Regions from separate parts of the Homo sapiens genome. Here region 2 is linked to region 1. Evidence: promoter capture Hi-C in human tissues and cell types (Jung and others, 2019). All regions are on one chromosome and are shown on one strand. The core of a region is centred on a gene start or on the middle of the fragment in contact, and the rest is flanking DNA. Distances in the headings are between cores, read along the strand shown. Region 1 holds the start of CASQ1 (calsequestrin 1). Region 2 overlaps DCAF8 (DDB1 and CUL4 associated factor 8).

Region 1 (2,573 bases), core at 34-2,533:
CTCTGGACAAGCTGAGGCCAGAGAAGGGGCCACAGGAGCTTGGACAAGAAAACTCACATCCCATTTCCTAAAGGTGTGTGTGTATGAACACATTCCCAAACATAGGTTTTTTTTCTTTTCTTATGATAACTTCTTTCTCCTTTGGGCCTGAAGTCATTTTGGAGGTGAGGAGACTTTTCCCACAAAAAGAAGATTGGGGAAGACATTCTGACACCTCCTGCAACCATAAGAATTTTCCAGTGAGGGCATCCAGCTTATCCAATGGAGACAAATGGGGAATTAGGGAGGGGGAAGGAAGAGAGAGGGGACTGGGAGTCCAATGGGAGGCATGATCTCTAGGAGATATTTAAACATGGCATGCAAGTATCATAACATTTACATTTACACTCAGTTTGGATCTCTTTGGGGTGCAGCCCCTGAAGTATGTGGAGAGGACGTGTTCTGGCTAAGCAGATGGGTGGGGTAGGGGAGTGCAATATACACTGCTGTTCTCCCCTGGCCCTCCAAGTACCTCCCTTTTTCACCCTCAGTGTCCTAGCCAAACCTAAGTCAAATACTACCAGCCTCCTATAGCAGGGAGGGGAGCTCTTCCTGCAGCACCCCTGCTAAAGGTTTCCTGACGCTGATAGTACTTTTGGGTTCCTGAGACTCTGTTTCTCATTTGACTAAAGCCACATGCCACTTGCATCCTGTTGGTCAGGACAGGGTTCCTACCACACTGCCCCTCACCCCCAGATCCCATCCTCAAAGAGCTACATGGGTGTAGGATAGGGGATTCCGGAGAGGGGCTAGACATGCTCTGCAGGCCTGCAGTGCCCCCAACTCACCTCCAGGATCAGCTCCTCCATCTCAAATTGTCTTTGTGAGGCCTTGTCATCCTCGGGGGGTTCATGGTAGAGGAGTGCCAGCACCTCATACTTCTTGAACACATTCTTGTAGTTCTTTGCATTGACATTGATCACACGGTCCACACCATCGTACTCAGGGAAGTCCAGCCCTTCCTGCCCCTGTACCCCTGACTTGGGTGTCCCTAGCACCAGCAGCAACAGCAGTGCCAGCCGCAGACCCGGCACAGCTCTGGGCCCCATCCTGTCTGTAGCACTCATGGAGGTAGTGGGATCTGGGTTGGCTCTCCTGGTCCAGAAGAGGTTAGCTGGGGTAGGGAGGGGCCCCTGGGTCCCAGATTCTGAGTTAGGGGCTCAAGTGGGAGGGGGGATTGGGGAATGGCCCAGAGCAGTGGACAGAGGGCACTGCTGGGTCCTGGAGAAACTGCCGACAGAGCCAAGGGAAAAAGGGTCAGGTGGAGGAATAGGAGCAGGGGGCGGGGAGGGAACCGGAGCTGCCCCCTGAAATTGGCACCCCTCAGTCCCCACCTGGTCCTGTCTAAATATGTCTCCATGGTTGGCAGGAGAGACGGATAACCTTCTGAGGCCAGGACAGCTCCATGCGGGCCGGAATCCTCCCACCTCCTACACTTCTACCCCAGGCTCCCAGGGGCTCCTTCCCTCCCCCTCCTCCAGTGTCCAGGGCACCTCAGCCCCGGTCCCCACACTGGCCTAAGAGCTCATCGCCATATTAAGAAAGGAAAAGGAGAGATGCCGGAGCTAAAAATAAGACCAGATGAGTCGGAGGTAAATGAAGCTGGGGCTGGGGGAGGGGAGGTATAAGGGTAATTAGGGTGGGCCGAGGGTGGGGCAAGGGTAATTAGAAGTTAAATGCAGTGGAGAGGAGGAGCTAACTGGGTCAGAGGCTAAATTGATAATATAGGACAAAAGGGGGACAAATGTGGTATTGGCTCTATGTCCTAAAGCCTGGGAATCTTCTGTAGGTGAAGTCTGATTCTGATTCTTTGATACTATGTAGGAGAGTGGGGCGATAAAAGTGCAAGCCAGGCTGCAGGAAAGAGACCCCCTCCACTTTCTTTTAAAGAACCAGGACCAAGGATGAGGTCATTCTCTGAATAAAAGATGGAGCCGCGTCCAAGACTGGCAACCTGGCTCAGCTCCAGCCAGTTTCCTTTGCTTCACTCAGCACTCCTAACTTGGGAATGCAGGGAAGGACAGGGCTGGCCCAGATCCTGTCCTGTAGAGATGTGGGTTTGGGGTTTCTCTGCCTATAAAGCCCACAATGAGAAGGGGTCTGTCCTTTGGTTGCCACCTGTGTGTGCACTCCCTACCCTGATCCTATGGGACTCGGTTTTCTGGGGCACAGTGGGAAGGGAGGTTTTCCCAGGCTGCATGCTTCCAAGGAGAGTGAATAGCTACTATTTATTCCCATGTCTTTGACAAGACAAAGAGGATCAGGTATTGACACCAGGGCAAAAAAAAATTAACATTAGGCAAGCATGAAGAGGTGAACCCTGTGCCCTGAACCAAGACTGATGATTAATTCTGTGCACCCGAGATCCAAAGCAGAGATGGGCGGGTAGGGGCTTAAACTTCTGGATCCAGCTTGGGGGGTGAGGACAGAGTAGTGAGTTTAACTCTGGATACGTAGGAAGGAAGGATCCTCTTCATGGCCCTCCAGGGTTCTTACTATGCACAGGTAAACTGAGGCATGAGGGAGACCATAGA
Region 2 (2,573 bases), core at 22-2,521, 39 kb before region 1:
GCTCCTTTATGGAGAGTTACGAATTTTATAGGAATCCATTAACTATTATCTTGAATTTTTTACCGTTTTCCAAAAATCTTACACGCCTTTGGAGATGTTCTGTTCTCTAATGTAACAGTCTCTGAGGGGTGACTTTACATATTTTAGAGATTATCAAGTTTTAAAGAAGTTAGATGATGGTCAGGTGTAGTGGCTCACACCTGTAATCTCGACACTTTGGGAGGTGAGGCGGGTGGATCACCTAAGGACAGGAGTTTGGGACCAGCCTGGCCAACATGGCAAAACTCTGTCTCTAAAAAAAAAAATACAAAAATTAGCCAGGCATGGTGGTACATGCGTGTAGTCCCAGCTGCTCAAGAGGCTGAGGCAGGAGGATCACTTGAGCTCAGGAGTCAGAGGTTGCAATGAGCCAAGATTGTGCCACTGCACTCCAGCCTGAATGACAGAGCGAGACTCTGTCTCAAAAAAGAAAAGAAAAGAAGTTAGATGAATTGACCAAGGTCCTCACGTGGCAGCTAAGCCATAAATTTAGGTTTACCAGCAAGTACTATATTAGTAAATAATCTACCTTTTTCGTATGTAAATAAACGTGCACTAGAAATTTTAAATACTGGTTTTCAATTCAGAAATAGTTTGACTTGGGAGCACTTAGTGTGAACTGAGGGTTTTTTGGCTCTCACTGTCCTGAGCTACCACTTTTTTTTATCCATAGTGATATCTTTGTTACCGTGAACACCTTTTGTTAACACTGGCTCTTGAGACATGACCTAAGGAAAACAGACACTGTGGATTCAGTCTCCATATGTATTAGTTAATTTCCTCTGACCCTTAGTAATAAGCTGTATCCATCCCTATCCAGTTGGCCTATTTTAACTATGTTTCTTTGGGCTCATCAGTTTGAAAGGAGAGAGAGGGGCAAGATCACTAGAAAAATGAGTGACTTTTTGCTTTCCTAATGGTAAGTGAAAAGCATCATCTTCCTTTTGAAATGAGAGCACATTTTATAGCTATATTTCCAGATTCATTTTATTAATAAGAATCATGGGGAATAGGGTAAATTTTTAGAAAATACATGAGATGACTTTGCCTTGTTCAAGAATCCTGGACAAAACCTTGTTTCTCTCTTCTTCCCCTATTCCCATGCCTTCAAAATTCGTTTCCTCTAGTCACCAACAGTCCTTAAATGTGTAGCCATAGATTTTTTTTTTTAGACAGAGTTTTACTCTTATTACCCATGCTGGAGTGCAGTGACACAATCTTGGCTCACTGCAACCTCCGCTTCCCGGGTTCAAGCGATTCTCCTGCCTCAGCCTCCCGAGTAGCTGGGATTACAGGTGCACGCCACCACGCCTGGCTAATTTTTTGTATTTTCAGTAGAACCGAGGTCTCACCGTGTTAGCCAGGCTAGTCTCGAACTCCTGACCTCAGGTGATCTGCCCGCCTTGGCCTCCCAAAGTGCTGGGATTGCAGGCATGAGCCACTGTGCCTGGCCAATTTTTTTTATTTTTAAATAAGAAGCTGTTGATCAAAAAGGGTTGTAGTTTGTATAGATTTTCAGTTGCTACCTCCTCCAAGTTGAGCATTCACTGAAATTTTGAGTTGAGAGTTCCTACTTAGAGCTCCAGATTACTTGAAAAGTCTGTGTCTCTAACAAATTCCACCACTAGGACCAAGATGTTTGGAGGGGAATGTAGTAGTTTGCTGTATTGAGAACTGTATTCATATGTATGTATGTATTCATATGTATTCATATGATATGTATATCATATTGCCTTAACCCAAAGCTGATACTTTCCCAGGGTTAGAGTAAGGCTTAGAGTTTTAGCATTTCAACACAAGGAGAAATACTCAAATCTTCTGTGTCTTATCAGCCTCAATATTCCTCTATTGGCTATTTACTGGGCAGAAGTTATGTGAAGATTTTTGTTTTTTTTTTGAGACAGAGTCTCACTTTGTTGCCCAGGCTGGAGTGTAGTGGCTCGATCTCGGCTCACTGCAACCTCTGCCTCCTGGGTTCAAGTGATTCTCATGCCTCAGCCTCCCAAGTAGCTGGGATTACAGGCATGTGCCACTTTGCCTGGCTATTTTTGTATTTTTAGTAGAGATACGGTTTTGCCATGTTGGCCAGGCTGGTCTCGAACTGTCTTCAAGTGATCCACCCACCTCGGCCTCTCAAAGTGCTGGGATTACAGTCGTGAGCCACCGCGCCTGGCTATGTGAAGATTTTGAGGCACGCTGATCCTACACAAGCAGGTAGCCCTTTCAGCACTCCAGCTCTTCTCTGACATTAGGTTACACTCAACTTCTCTGGCACCTCTCCTGTGCAGCCAACTGAATGTTTTGAGGTTTCTCCTTTCTTATTCTTCCTTTGAAAGAACCCAAACAGCTCATCTTCTGGTATAAATTTGAAAACATTTTTGCTGAATATTATATATCATAACATCATTAACTTTCACTCCTAGCCTAAAGGAATTACTTCAAGGGAATATAGAGAAATAGCTTACTGATCCTCAAGGCTTTTGCATCATTAATACTGAATTTTAGTTTAGGGTTATTAAAAAGTATTTAAGGGA

What was found. Contacts are between HindIII fragments. The study calls those that stand out against the background at their distance.
Region 2: a contact is called between a fragment that was not itself captured here and the fragment with the promoter of CASQ1 in region 1, in 3 of the 25 tissues and cell types used here (adrenal gland, aorta and hippocampus).

Annotation. Positions count from the first base shown.
Region 1 is chr1:160,189,285-160,191,857 of GRCh38, reverse strand. CASQ1 (calsequestrin 1) reads right to left here and starts at 1,283. Exons shown (of 11, transcript NM_001231.5): 1 at 828-1,283. The coding sequence starts at 1,106. The HindIII fragment of the contact is 26,832 bases long and covers 1-2,573 here.
Region 2 is chr1:160,228,659-160,231,231 of GRCh38, reverse strand. The region is part of intron 7 of DCAF8 (DDB1 and CUL4 associated factor 8); the gene reads left to right. Among named protein-coding and RNA genes, the nearest start is that of PEA15-AS1, 21 kb to the right of the region's middle. The HindIII fragment of the contact is 7,705 bases long and covers 1-2,573 here.